Regions from separate parts of the Homo sapiens genome. Here region 2 is linked to region 1. The links are contacts of gene promoters, found by promoter capture Hi-C in blood cells and fetal thymus (Javierre and others, 2016). All regions are on one chromosome and are shown on one strand. Each heading gives the region's core, a stretch centred on a gene start or on the middle of the fragment in contact. The rest is flanking DNA. Distances are from core to core; before and after follow the strand shown.

Region 1 (3,007 bases), core at 130-2,629:
AAGTGAAACAATTAGTTTTGGTAGAGTTCTGTGGTAATCATAGTTAGAAGTTTATCCTGGGTAGCTGAAATATAACTAACTTCAGACTCCAGGCCTGTCGGTGGCTTGTGCCAATCACCACAACACTTTGAGGGGCCAAGGCCAGAGGATCGCTTGAGCCCAGGAGTTCAAGGCTGCAGTGAGCTATGATCACACCACTGCACTCCAGCCTGGGCAACACAGCTCTTGTTTTTTAACAAGACATTGTTACTTAAAAAAAAACTGCCCTGATGAAACAATTCTACCATGAACACTGATGTTGTTCTGTGGACTACTTCAGGAAGATGGACTAAGAACATCATTAAATAGTTCCAACCAGTTTCTGGGTAATTTTATTTTTAATTTTTTGTTATGAGGGTCTTGCTATGTTGCCCAGCCTGGGCTCAAATGATCCTCCCACCGCGGGCTCTCAAAGTGCTGGGTTTACAGGTGTCACACCGCGACAGCCAAGGGTAACTTTTTTTTATTTTTATTTTTGAGATGGAGTCTCGAACTGTCGCCCCGGCTGGAGTGCAATGGCGCGATCTCGGCTCACTGTAACCTCCGCCTCCAGGATTCAAGCGATTCTCCTGCCTCAGCCTCCCGAGTAGCTGAGATTACAGGCGCCCACCACCACGCCCAGCTAATTTTTTGTATTTTTAGTAGAGACGGGGTTTCACTATGTTGGCCAGGCTGGTCTCGAACTCCTGACCTCGTGATCCGCCTGCCTCGGCCTCCCAAAGTGCTGGGATTACAGGCGTGAGCCACCGCGCCCGTCCAAGGGTAACTTTTTAAGAGCTGCCCTACAGCTCATTACCTCCTTCTCAAGGAGCATGAGTGTCAAACCACCTCCAGCAAAGTAGATGTAGTCTTTTACAGATTTGGAAAGAAGGATTTAGGAGGAAAGGGAAGTCGTTCGGAATGAAGGATTTCCTCCTCTGACGCCCAGCCGTCCCCCGTTAAGCCTAAAGGTGCCAGACCTCAAGACTCTTCTAGAAAGAGATTTTTCCTTTCCAAGGTGAATCCATCTGTTCCGAAGGTCAGAAGCTATTTTACCGAAGTTTTCCGTTCCACTGAAAAAATTAAGGGTCAATCAAAGCTCCTTGCCCCAAACCTGAATATGAGCTTGCCTCGGGTCATATTCGACTCTAAAGACTCCACCACACCATCCTGGACTCCCCTATATCTAGGACAAAAAGCGACCAGTTTCTCAGGGGCTCCTTGCGGGGAGCTTACCGCGCCCTCACTGTCCGCCGGCCCGAGTGCTACCGGAGATCACCAGCGGCCCGGACGCCAGCGAGTGGAACATCTCGGTCGCACTCTCATTGGTTCCAGGGGGCCGGAAGTGCGTGCGTCCAGCGGAAGTGCTCCCCCGGCGCGGTCCGCCAGGCCAGTGCCCTCAGGTAGGCGGGGCCCCTGGCCCTAAACTCTGGGACTGGCGGGCGGTCAGGCGGCACAGGGGGAATCCCGGGGGCCTAAGGAGGTTGTCCCAGTTTTTGTCAGGTAGGCCCGGAAGGAGTTTCGGGGACCATGGGTTTACGGCTACCTCTGGTGGCAATTGGGGCCTGTTGGAGCCCGGCCGCCGCGGGACCTACGTGCCGGACTTCAAGTTCCCGCGTGGGGTGGGATTTGCTGCGGTGGCCGGAGCTGATTCTTCACCCAGTCCTGTTGGTTCTGGGCCAAACCCTCCTCACTTTCAAGGAAGAGGCGTGCTCTCCGCCCTTACCTTTTCCAAGCCTCTGGGTTTGACGCCATCCCTCAAGGCGTGTCCGGATGCGGGATTTTCCTCAAAGACCCTCTCGGCCTCGCTAGGAAGAAACTCAGAAAGGCTGCGGTAGGCGCAGTCGAGGGGGAAAGTGCCCCCGCCCTTGATGTCTCAGGCTGCTCAAGTGGAAGTTATCTGGACTGCCTTAGGGCAAGTTTATATATAGCAAATAAAATTACTTGTTAATGGTTTCCTTTTTTCCAGCATCTCCACCCCGAGGTGGTTTGAACTTTGAGCCTTTTGTAGTCCTGATGAATAATTTCATTTTCCTCAAGTTTATGACACTCGGAACGTCAAGAACTGGAGGTTTGTGCAATTTGAGACCGGTCGGCACTGTGCAGAGATCAGAGTACTAAGAGACAGGTGAGCATGAATGAGGACCCTCCGCTCCAGATATAGTGTCTGAGAGCGGTTTCTGTAGTTTCGTAAAAGTGAAAAGTGCACCACATTTAGTGACTACTAGGTGGTGCCAACGAGTTAATCTTTCGGGGATAAATCTCAACTAATGTAGTACCAGGTTAAGGCTTTTAAAATGCACCCATTTTTACTGAAATGTATTCAGAATAGCTTTAGCTCCTTAAAATATGTTGAGCCTTTATATACGTGACCAAATTATCGACGTTCTATTCTGTATTAGGTACTGAGAAAGCTGAGAGAGGAATCAGACTCATATTCTGTTCTCCAGAGTTTAGTCAGAGGAGATAACGTATTATAATAAAATCATATATAATTAAAGGCAGAAATAAGTGCTAAATAGAGAATAAGATTTGAGCTGGGCGCGGTGACTCACGCCTGTAATCCCATCACTTTGGGAGACTGAGGCAAGTGGATCACCAGAGGTCAGGAGTTCAAGACTCGCCTGGACAACATGGTGAAACCCCATCTCTACTAAAAATACAAAAATTAGCCAGATGTGGTGACGCATGCCTGTAGTCCCAGCTACTGGAGAGGCTGAGGCAGGAGAATTGCTTGAACCCAGGAGGCTGAGGTTGCAGTGAGCCGAGATCGCGCCACTGCACTCCATCCTGGACGACAGAGCGAGACTCCGTCTCAAAAAAAATTTTAAAAAAAAAGATTTGAATGCTAAAGAAGAAGCAATCAATTCTCATTATTCATCTACCAGTTGTTTATTCGGCACTTTTTGTCTGTCCAAGATTGTGCTGGATGCTGGTGTATAAAGAAAAGGTAAAGGCCGGGTGCGGTGGCTCACGCCTGTAATCCCAG
Region 2 (3,007 bases), core at 369-2,868, 470 kb before region 1:
TCTAGTTACAGCAACTGAGGTACAGTGAAGAAGGGAACCACATAATCTAAGCCTATCTTGTGCCAGTGTCCAGTGATGGGGCTAAGTGCCCATCCCTGGAAACTGCTCAAGCTAAGTGTCCTAAGATCGCACTTCTGCACAGCCGTGTGAGTCCTTCCCGTCGGACCCTGGGCTGCCTCTCACTTACCTTCTAATGATGCAGCCCCCTCTCCACATCAGGGCGATGCCACCATAATTGAGAGTCCAGCCAAACTCGGTGGCTGCCTGCCTTAGCAGCATAAAGCCTTGAGCGTAAGAGATGATCTTGGAAGCGTAGAGTGCCTAAAGAGTGACACAGAGACCTACTAGGATTGCCATTAGGAGAGTGACCGCCTTATGTCTACCAGTCTTATTCTCATCAGCAGTGGAGATCCCAGAAGGGCCAATATTCTAGGAAAACATTGTAAGTCAAGATCCAAGTCAAGGCTGAACTTCATTCCACCTGCCATCCTGTGGCCTCGAGTGTTCTCCCACCACAACCCCCACCCCCACTGCCTTCCGCAGGACCAACAAAGACCACTGCCAGGGACTGTGTCCCACCTTCCGAATGTCCTCCAGGAATGATTTCTTATCACCATCAAACTGGAACTTCTGGGGACCCTTCAGCTTTTTGCTAGCTTGAATTCTCTCATCCTTCAGAGATGATAAGCACCGAGCAAAGACAGCTTCTCCTACATGGGGAGATCGGGAAGAGGAAACAGATTACTGTCAGGCCTCTGAGCCCAAGCTAAACTATCATATCCCCTGTGACCTGCATGTATACATCCAGATGGCCTGAAGCAAGTGAAGAATCACAAAAGAAGTGAAAATGGCTGGTTCCTGCCTTTACTGATGACATTCCACCATTGTGATTTGTTCCTGCCCCACCTTAACTGAGCGATTAACCTTGTGACATTCCTTCTCCTGGCTCAGAACCTCCCCAACTGAGCACCTTGTGACCCCTCGGCCCTGCCCGTAAGAGAAAAACCCCCTTTGACTGTAATTTTCCACTACCTGCCCAAATCCTATAAAATGGCCCCACCCCTATCTCCCTTCGCTGACTCTTCGGACTCAACCTGCCTGCACCCAGGTGATTAAAAAGCTTTATTGCTCACACAAAGCCTGTTTGGTGGTCTTTTCACACGGATGCGCATGAAAATTACCAAAGTTCGCACAGCAACCAGAAGAAAGGTGGAGCAGGAAAGTCTGTTTATACAAAGAGCTGAAAGTTTCAACCTTAGGCCACAAAAGTTGACATGGATCGGAAGGAACTTTTATAAGAAGCTCTAAACAGTTAATTTGATAACTAAAACTCTTAAGACAATCTTCCAATACAAACATGAGTATTCAATCACAAAGATTAACATGAAATTCAAAAGGGAGTTTTGAGGGAAAATGAAGAGATAGAAACCACTGTTATGGCTGGGCAAGGTGGCTAACACCTGTAATCCCAGCACTTTGGCAGGCTGAGGTGGGAGGATCACTTGAGCCCAGGAGTTCAAGGCTACAGTGAGCCATGATCACACCACTGCTCTCCAGCCTGGGCAACACAGTGAGACCCTGTCTCTAAAACCAGTAAAATAAAATAAAAACCACTGTTATGTAGAATACTCAGTGTTGGTCCATGAGTAAAATTTCAAATTCAATTTAGAGGACCTTAATTTTTTTTTTTGAAGATTTTACATTGATAAGTCACATTTACGGACTCACCTCTCAAAAAAATGTTAGGTTTTTATATTTTACGGTTTTCAGTATAGCCGTAATCATTCAAGTTTAACCACTTTACTTCATTTGAATTAAAAAGTCAATGTAGTATTTTAATATTAAGACATTTAGTATTTTCAGAAAGTATTCCTTATAAAAGACTTGCTCAACTGACAACTTATAGTTAGAATAAATGACTCTTTAACCACTTTTTCCCCCATAGACAAAATGAAGTAAAATCTCAGGGAACTAACAGAGGACTTTATTTCTGAGGAAAGAGGAGCAGCTATGGCTTGAGACTGCTAACCCTACTCCAAACACACAAAAGCAGCTACCTCTCTCCTGGCCCAAATGCACACACAGGATGACTTAGCATTTCTAGAAGGAAGCTTTGTAAGATGACTGGTGCAACAGGCTATGAGGCAAACCCTTCCTGTTAGAGGGGGAGAGGGCAGCTGGAAGACTTCCCTGTTAGTTCACAAATAATGATGGCTCCCAGCAGGGGGTGGGCCCAGCCACCCTGGGGGAAGAGGTATATGGATCCACAGGAGGAGAGTAGGATTCTGAGATCCTAATACTTACACATATACTTGAGTCCGTGATGAATAAATTGCTCCTAGCTATTGGCCCCTCCCTCCTCACCTATGTTATGGCTCAGATCGGCTAAAAGCAGCCAACTTCCTTCTATACAGCACGGAACTGTAGAAACCACCGACTTTCCTCCTTACTCTGCCTTACACCACACAGTTCAATAGGGCGAGGCACAATGAACAGGGAGGTCAAAAGGGGAGAAGAGTCAAGGGAGAGAAAGGCAACCTGTATCCAGAGGAGCAAACAGGAAAAATTCTGTTTTATTATTTTTGAGATGCTTCTTTTTTTTTTTTTAGGCGGAGTCTTGCTCGGTCGCCCAGCCTGGAGTGCAGTGGTGCGATCTCAGCCCACTGCAAATTCCGCCTCCCAGGTTCAAGTGATTCTCCTGCCTCAGCCTCCTGAGTAGCTGGGATTACAGGCACGGGTCACTATGCCTGGCTAACTTTCGTATTTTTAGTAGAGATGGGGTTTCGCCATGTTGGTCAGGCTGGACTCAAACTCCTGACCTCGTGATCCGCCCACCTCGGTCACCCAAAGTGCTGGGATTACAGGCGTGAGCCACCGCGCCTGGCCCAATTCTGTTTTAATATAGTGAGAACAATCTGCCAGAAGCAAAGATCAGCCTCTCATTAACCACGAGAGGCATCCTTCGTTCTCCTTTTTCATTCCTGCCAGAAGTCTATGTATTTTACTC

The links. The method cuts DNA at HindIII sites, captures the fragments that hold promoters and counts their contacts. A CHiCAGO score of 5 or more calls a contact.
Region 2: a contact is called between a fragment that was not itself captured here and the fragment with the promoter of LZIC in region 1, in 2 of 17 cell types (activated CD4 T cells and naive CD8 T cells). The highest score is 6.2, in activated CD4 T cells.

Annotation. Positions count from the first base shown.
Region 1 is chr1:9,941,763-9,944,769 of GRCh38, reverse strand. It overlaps LZIC (leucine zipper and CTNNBIP1 domain containing), which reads left to right and starts at 1,379. Exons shown (of 8, transcript NM_032368.5): 1 at 1,379-1,521; 2 at 1,988-2,146. It overlaps NMNAT1 (nicotinamide nucleotide adenylyltransferase 1), which reads right to left and starts at 1,295. Exons shown (of 5, transcript NM_022787.4): 1 at 1,255-1,295. RefSeq lists enhancers at 1,210-1,779, 1,047-2,246, 1,780-2,350. The HindIII fragment of the contact is 30,819 bases long and covers 1-3,007 here.
Region 2 is chr1:10,414,690-10,417,696 of GRCh38, reverse strand. It overlaps PGD (phosphogluconate dehydrogenase), which reads right to left. Exons shown (of 13, transcript NM_002631.4): 9 at 580-710; 10 at 188-321. Among named protein-coding and RNA genes, the nearest start is that of CENPS, 14 kb to the left of the region's middle. The HindIII fragment of the contact is 991 bases long and covers 1,123-2,113 here.